Regions from separate parts of the Homo sapiens genome. Here region 1 is linked to region 2. The links are contacts of gene promoters, found by promoter capture Hi-C in blood cells and fetal thymus (Javierre and others, 2016). All regions are on one chromosome and are shown on one strand. The core of a region is centred on a gene start or on the middle of the fragment in contact, and the rest is flanking DNA. Distances in the headings are between cores, read along the strand shown. Region 1 overlaps NSD3 (nuclear receptor binding SET domain protein 3). Region 2 holds the start of PLPP5 (phospholipid phosphatase 5).

What was found. Contacts are between HindIII fragments. The CHiCAGO score rates a contact against its expected background, and 5 or more counts as called.
Region 1: a contact is called between a fragment that was not itself captured here and the fragment with the promoter of PLPP5 in region 2, in 6 of 17 cell types (total CD8 T cells, total B cells, total CD4 T cells and 3 more). The highest score is 8.3, in total CD8 T cells.

What each region holds. Positions count from the first base shown.
Region 1 is chr8:38,319,535-38,323,587 of GRCh38, forward strand. It overlaps NSD3 (nuclear receptor binding SET domain protein 3), which reads right to left. Exons shown (of 24, transcript NM_023034.2): 8 at 1,538-1,638. Among named protein-coding and RNA genes, the nearest start is that of PLPP5, 52 kb to the left of the region's middle. The HindIII fragment of the contact is 2,060 bases long and covers 222-2,281 here.
Region 2 is chr8:38,266,726-38,271,094 of GRCh38, forward strand. PLPP5 (phospholipid phosphatase 5) reads right to left here and starts at 2,499. Exons shown (of 7, transcript NM_001102559.2): 1 at 2,401-2,499; 2 at 2,157-2,265; 3 at 1,646-1,736; 4 at 1,172-1,235; 5 at 542-666. The coding sequence starts at 2,474. NSD3 (nuclear receptor binding SET domain protein 3) reads right to left here. Exons shown (of 24, transcript NM_023034.2): 24 at 2,979-4,369. It also overlaps a transcript of DDHD2 not described here. RefSeq lists a silencer at 2,218-2,697. The HindIII fragment of the contact is 3,801 bases long and covers 1-3,187 here.

The DNA of each region.
Region 1 (4,053 bases), core at 2-2,501, 52 kb after region 2:
ACAGTGTCTTGATCCTACATTAGGAGAGCGAGATCAGAAGTTATTCTGCCAATGTATATGTAAAACACGTGGTAATTTGAGGATTGAACCATTGGAATTAGAGAAAGGAGGCTGTTTGGAGGAGTTCCTGTTTAAGCTATAAATTGAATTTCATGTTTCTTTAAGATGTGGTGAAATATGAATGTTGAAACACATTTTGTAAATATTTAAGGATTGTTCTAAGCTTTTTAAAAAAAATTTTATTTTTTTTACAACAGGTAAAAAAACATACAACAGAAACGCTTTTATAAGATACAATTAGTAATACAAATATAAAATCTTCTAAACAATCACTGGTATTGTTCTACTACTAACTATAACACAGTGGCATTAACAATTTGTCCCACTTTTTATACTCATTCTGCTTATTAGTTTAAAACTGACTGGTCACAGACTGATTTTGGGAACCAGCTGGCAAAATCACAACTTCATTTTGGTAATGAATAACTATAGATTTTCAAGAGCTTAGAAAGATTTTTTGGAATATAATTTCCTAAGTATGAAATATGAAAGTTAATATGATAAATGAATGACAAATTAGTATACTATTTAAATTTTAGTTAAATATTCTGGAAAAACTGTTTCACTTGCTTGGTGATACCACAGAGCACCCACAAAGTTAGCTTTTAAATTTGGAAGTTTAAAATCATGAAGGAAATATTTTAAATAGAAAAGCTCACATTCTTCCATATAAATGGTTTAAAAAATATAAAACTTATTGGAACTAATTCTATTCAGAATTTGTTTTGTTTGCTAGCAGGTGTTTAGGCTGTAAGAATGGATATTCTTTAACAAAAAAATTAAGAAAAAATCTGATTGTGAGTTTAATTTAAAGAAGAATGGCTTCTAAAATTTTATTTGAAAAGTTGATTTAAATGTATCTTACTACATTGATTACACTGGTTTAATACACTTCAGTCAAAATGCAACCCCCCCACACACCTTTTTTTACCTAAATATTATTTATCTGACAACCTGATATCAGGTGAATATTCCACTGGGAAAATAACATTCCAAAAAATCTGCGATATTAACAGAAAAAACAGATCATCTATGAATATCTGCTTCTTAAATATAAGAATATAAATTAAATTGATTTGTTTAAAAAATAAAAAACAATATATACCAGCAGCTTAAACCAAAAATCAAACTTAAAAAAAAAAAAAGGAACTCAATGATGGTTCCAAATAAAAATCATAAAAACATGAAATCATTCTGCTGATAACAGAAACTTCTAAATAAATGTGAAGGATTTTTTAAGTCTTGCACCACTGGCTTCCCATCTCCTGAAACCTGTTTTCTGTGAAAATGCTTGAAGCAGAATCACAGGGATGGCTGTATTAAAACTGAGCACTGGAACCCACCAGGACAGAAGCGTTAAGATAGTCCAGAAAGGAAACTCAGTGTGGGGGAAAGTTTCTCTTTCTTTTAAGACAGGAATGTAAGCCACAACATTTACAAATACAATGTTTTAACTCTCTACATGTAGGAAGCCAACCTGCTCCTTTTTGATCTTCTTCTTTGGCACAACCTCAGTGGATTTCTCTGATTCAGAACGAGTTCTAATTGATCTTCTCTGTTGCTTCTTTTCTACTGAGCCTAAGAAATGATTTAAACACACAAACAAAAACTCACTTAAGGATACCTTGACATCTATGTAATTAAGATATGACCACATTCCTTGCTTTTCTTACCCATTACTTTTGGAATTTTAATTAAAATCATTAAAAAATGCTAAACATTCAGGAGCATATAAATTATTTAACAGATCAAATTGTAAAGGCTGATAAGCTGAGACTGGGATTCACAAAGGGTCCTAAATTATACAAATAAAGGGGGATTGGTTTTTTAAAAATTGAAAAGTCAAACTAAAACAGCAGACACATTAGTTTTAAAGGCACATAAACATCTTTAGGTAAATATAATTAGGGAATGAAGGGACTGAAGGATGCATAAAAATAAACTTTATTATCCACCTGATGTTAGAAATTATTGGTTCAAAATTCAATCAGTGCCACACATTCTGCATTTTAACAAATGAGTTTAATTAATTCTATACATAAAATGGTTAACAGTGCTTGTTGCACTTATGTAAGTTTTGCTGTTGTTATTAATAACAAAAGCAGGAAAAGCAGGGAAGGCAAAAAATGTGACCAAAACCTAATCATTAATTTGACTATCAAGGGATCTGTTATACTCTGGAAATAATTAGTCGTGGAAAACTAGTTGAAACAAATTATCAAGCTTTTTCATGTTAAATGGTAAAACAAACTATTAAGATTTTTAAAGAGTACAATTCTTTAAAAGCGAATTGAAGAAAACTCACATGGACCCCATTTTTGGAAAGGATAAAACTGAAATTGAAGAACACAACTTGAAAGAACATTGTCAGGAATGATTTCATTCTGTGAGCCTGAGGAGGAATGATACCTGCAGTGCAGCTGTTCTCCATGTTTTCAGTGCCTGGACCACCTACGTATTCCTTCCTAAATCATAATCACCTCTGGCTTGCCATAGGAAGAAGCCACTAAGACCTATAAAATCAGATAGAAGCTCTATCTATAAAGCCTTTCATATAACCTTTATATTTTCTGGTTTCATTGCTCTTGGCTATGTATAAATGACTTCCCTCACTTTAGTTCAAAGCCAAAATGAAGGATCCCACTACTTTGTTTTGTTTTTGGGAAGGAGCGGGTAGTTTGATAACAATATATTGTTTTAGAGCTGTGGTTAATCGATTTATAGTAATCACAAATAAAGGTATTGGCTCCTTTCTTTACTCTCACTCTTCTCCTTACACTGACGAAAATGTTTACTAAGACAGCAGATATGCTACCCTCCCAGACCAACCTGAGGATCCGAGATCCATACTTTAGTATTAAAGTGTCAATATTCAACTACTACTAGGAAGGGCAAAAATGAAAATGGAATTGCTTAAAAACGAACAAAAAAATATTTACTTGTGTTGAGGGTAATATAATCACACCATGAAGAGCAGATGAGATTTGATTTACTGTCTTATAGAGGATAAAGCAACATGATTTCTTAAAATTATTCTGAAAGTTACCCAAAGAACATATACATTTAAAACCATTGAAGAGTATTATGTTCATGTTCTAAGAAAGAGGAGGTGAGCATTTCTGGGTTTGGAAAATAACTTTGAAATCTAGTGTGAATACAAGTACAGTTCTTCAAACGACAAAAATGTGACAGTGCCAAACATTTTATATATCCCTGAAATTTACTAAGAAAAGGCTCAATAATTTCCTTAAGCAGTTAACATCAGCTGAGATGATGCAATTGGTTTCTGAAGGGTGAACAAGTTTCTATTTTGACTTTTCAACTACTGAAGTTATTTTCACAAAAAGCAAAATGGTCACTTAAAAAGACAAGGTATGCTTATCAACCACAGCTGTTAACCAAACTTCAAACAAGCTCAAAGCTTTAGAGCACCAGTCCCTAAATTAAGTTTTTTTTCTTTTCTTTTCTTTTCTTTTTTGAGACGGAGTCTCTCCCTGTCACCCAGGCTGGAGTGCAATGGCGCGATCTTGGCTCACTGCAACCTCCGCCTCCAGGGTTCAAGCGATTCTCCTGCCTCAGCCTCCTGAGTAGCTGGGATTACAGGCGTGCGCCACCATGCCCAGCTAATTTTTTTTTTGTACCTTTGTAGAGACAGGGTTTCACCATGTTGGCCAGGTGATCTCAAACTCCTGACCTTGTGATCCGCCTGCCTCAGCCTCCCAAACTGCTGGGATTACAGGTGTGAGCCACCATACCTGGCCCTAAATTAAGTTTTCAATCTTAATTTACAACCTAAATTCTACGTTCCTGCTTAAGCAAAAAACAACACTGCCTTTTTCCAGATATAAAGAAGTATAACCTTCCACTTAAGAAAAAAAGGAAATATTCATAGCAGAGATTAAATCTTACAATGAAAATACTATATAAAAAGAAAATGTTCAGGCTGGGCACAGCGACTCATGTCTGTAATCCCAACACTTCAAGAGGGCAAGA
Region 2 (4,369 bases), core at 1,249-3,748:
GTATACTTATAGTGTAAGTCATTGTGAAGGAAAGGGAAACAAAAAGAAAAATGAAGGACTTAGTGCCCCAAAGTTAATGTTTTATCTGAGTATAGTTTTCGGTATACTAGCTATATGTATCAACTTGTTGATGCTTTAGTTTCCTCATCTATAAATGGGACTCATAAATACAATAGTCCCCACCTCATTGGATTATTGTGAGCTATAATTAGGTAAGAAATGAAAATGCTTCAAAGTACCTGACACATAGAAACTCTTCGTTAAAGGTATTTTTATTGCTAGTACAAGATTGCAGGATCTAGGCAAATAATATAACAATTAAATGTGCAAATCTCATGAAGGTAAACTACCTTTCTGTTCTGTAATATTTACCCAAATAGTCAAGGCTCAGACTTGTTAAACTGTGGAGTTACTAAAGAAGGGGGGATTTTCCAAATTGTAGAAACAAGAGTAGTCAGATTTTCCCATCCCTACTAGCTTTCTAGGTTAAATTCAATGATGTGAAAACAAGCATAGGGTAGAGTCCATATGATATTCATACAGGAAGAATGTCCACTGGGGAAGCTCTTTCGGCCCTCATTCACCACGTCCTTATCCCCTGTACACATCAAGTCAGAATGGGCTAGCCCATCAGGGAAGCAGCGGTAGAAGAAATCTGGGCGTGGCCTGGAAGAAAGCAGCATGGTTGGAACGTAAATCATTAACTCCAGAAATTATTTTTCAGTTGTAGCAGACATTAATAATCCTGTTAACTATTGGTCAAATAGTGCCCCAGGCAAAATAAGGTAACTGGCTTAGTATAGTCACCACACTAAGAGAAAAGCCTTTCAAGGTGAGCATTTAAATTAGGGGAAAAACGCCCATTCCAGCACATGATTACTTTTTAGGGCAAACAGCAAATGACACTGCAGCTTCAGGAGGTGCTCAAGAGGACACTGACCGACTGCTGTGGCCGTTGGTGGGAAATGCTGTTCAGGCAGAAAAGAGCCCAGGTGTCACCTGGAGGACTGAGGTATGGGGAAGGGAGTAAGCGTTGAATGACAAAAGAAAAATCAGAGTGAAGATAAAGGAGAAAAGAATGAGAAAGACGTGTGGTGGACACCATTAACCTCTCTGTTCTGGTGGGTAAGGGCTGAGGCAGATGCTGGGGTGGTTAGCTGTTGTCACTTACCTCCCTACGATCAGTTTTATTGTGTTGGTAAAGACGCCATTCAGAGCCAGGGCAAGGCTGGCAGCTGCAAAGCAAAGCCATTAGTTGAAAGGATCTGTCTAGGAGGAAAGGTATGGTCATGGCCTCGTTATGAGAGCAGCCGTGCTGTTTCTGAGATGGATAGAATCCAACCAGGCCTGGGCACAAAAATAATTAGGGTCCTCAGTGATCACTCTTTTGTAGCCGAGAACTTTTGTACTAGGCCAAAGACATTTCTGAGGTACAAATAACCCAGTGCATTTAGGCACAGGGCTGCCTGCCGTGTAGCCTGCGTAACCAAGTCCCTGCAGTGCTATTTTCCTCTCCCGCGGGGATAGAGTTCCTTTAGGAATGCAGAACTCAGTGGCCTCCACACAGGCTCACCGTGGCTGAATCCCACAACGACCTCCTAGGTTCCCAGCACGAAGAAACCGGCCCGAAAGGGCTAGCGCTCACCCAGGCAGGCTTGTCTGCTGTCTCTTGTGTCTGCCTTCTTGAGAAATTTGGCCAGGAAGATCAGAGACAGTGGAGAGAGAAATGCAATAACCTGAATCAGAATGTCAGAGGTTAAAAACAATCCAAAAAAAAGCCACACTCGTGCTCCTACAGGAAAGAGGGATGTGACACAGCAGGACTCACTGGAGCTAACATAAGGTCTCTGAGTGCGCGTAACCGGGCGCCAGGCAGCGCCACCAGTGAACAGCAGCGCCCGTGCGGCTCGGGCCCCGGTACCTCAGGCTGAGGCACAGAGCGCCCGGGAAAACGTTGTCTCAGCCCAAAGAGGCTCGGACACCCTCCTCTCTCAATCAGGATCTTAAACACTCGAGCCCTAGGAGGCGGAACCCAGCGCACAGCAGCGGAGTGGGCAGTGGGTCCCTACAAAGGCCGTCTCGGGGTGGAAAACGCACAGGTGCCCGCGGGAAGCCGGGTCATGGGGAGGGAGGAAAGACGATCTTTCTCCACGCACAAACATCGGCTTGGTGGGGAAATACTCCGCCTCCACGTAGGGGTTCCGGTAGAGCCACATCTCCTCCGGCTGGATGAGTCTCTGGAACGGGGGGAGCAGCTCCGTCACCCTAGAGGGGAACAAAGAAGCGCAGAGCAGGTCGCCTGGCTTCCTCCCCGCTTCCCCACTGCCCGACCCGCCGCCCCGTGCCGCCCGCCTGCCTGGGAAGCGGGGCCGCCCGGGCCCGGCCGTGGATCTTTCTTACAGGAAGGCCGCGAACAGCGCGAGCCGCACGCCCACTTCGGCCCCAAAGGCCACCGCCGCCGCCGCCTTCCCCATCCGGCCGCGAGCTCCGAGCGACGCTGCGCTGACGTGGCCACCTCCGCGGGGAGGGCCGGGCCGGGAACTGGGCACCGCCCCCTCTCCCAGTTGCCCGCGCTCCGGCGGCTCCCCAGGAAGACGGCCTGGCGGCTGTGCCGAGGGCATCGTCTGGCAAAGGGTACGCAAAGCCAGCGGAGCTGCCCTCTGGTGCGTTCAGCAGGGAGCCAGCGCCCCAGTTCCAGCCGAGTAGGTCGGCGTACGGTCCATCATCAGCAGCTCGTCTCCACGGCCCAACCACACCACCGCGGGGAGCAGCCTTCTCCCGGGACCTCGCCTCTAAATGGAAAACCAAACAGCCCGCTCTCAGATCCTCGTTCCTTAGCAACACAGCCGCATTCTGCAGGAAGCTACACTACCTGAGGTTGGCTGGATTGTGTCATTTAGTCCTCCCACCCAGGATGGCCTCCTGCCCAGAGTGTTGTAGCAAAAAATTATTGGCAAAGAACAAGCCCACATATTTAATTTGGAACATACAGGACAATTTATTGAAGTCAATCTCAAGCAAAATCTGAAATCAGTGGAATGTCATTAAAAACCTTTCCAAATTAATCCTCACGGAAGCAAAAAACACATTGGAATTCCAAAGTATTTGTAAAATAAAAAAGGCAACATCTCAGTAAATATAATGTACAAAAATTATATGTTCCTACCAGCACACACATCAGTAAAGAAGCTTAAATATTACAGGCAACCCTAAATACACTATAACTAGTCAACAATAAGCTATCTATATACAGGTTAACCAAGCTTTACACGTTTCACACTATGCAATAAAACATAGGCCAATCAACAAAATCCTCAAAATATTATATATCTTGAAGTCTATGTGGCAACATCAAGTCATTATACAGTAATGCCCTAGTGGAACACCCCCAGGGAAAATTAACACTAATCCCTTAGTGTCAAGAGCTTCTAGCCAAGTCACAGAAACTCAAAAGAGATTGACTTTAGTGAATATTGATGCTTTGTTATTAAAGACTCAAGTCTCAAGTGATTTAGGCAAAGTAATGGTTCACAGGATCTACAAAGTTTATTACAGATAAAGTACAGAAATAACCAATCTACAAAGATCATTATCATAAAGAACACGAGAAAATGAAAACGGAGTCTGTAGGTATCTGTGTTTGTTGTGCAATATCACTCAAATGGGTACAAATGAGTTTCTCATATCAATTCCAAATATACACATACCCTTGTATATAAAAAATGATATTAGCCAGTTGTAATACTCATTTAGCATCTTGATTATTAGTGGCAATATAATTATCTTAACATAGGGCATGTAACAGGACAAATGAGATAAAATAATGACAACCAAGTAAGTTTTATCCAGTCCATTTCTAAACTGACAAGAATACCTTATTCAATACCTTATATAGGTCATCTGACAGATACTTGAGGGCTGTTTGCACACATCAAGTGTGTTGGCAGGCAGGGAGGGGAGCAGTAAAAGCTGAGGGTGCTTTCTCACTAACTAGCAGATGCAGTAATGCCACATAAGAAAACTAAGGACTGAATAAATGACTTTGGCATCTATTCTATTTTCCCTTTTTACTTACATGTAAATTACTTTTACAGCCTACTGAAGGACAGGCAATTCTCATCCCCCTCCCGCTTCATACATACGTGCCACAAGCACCCAAACTTGTCACTTATGCAATGGACTGACCAAAACAAAACAAAAAACAGAAATGTTTTTTGAAAGACACGGATTACCCACATTTTGGGAGTGTAACGTAAGTGCAATTTTTTGTTTTGTTTTTTTCCCTACATAGACATAGTAAAAGGAAAGAAGATGTGCTTGGGGAGAGGGTTGACAAAATGACAAAATAAAGAATGTACATAAAAAGTAT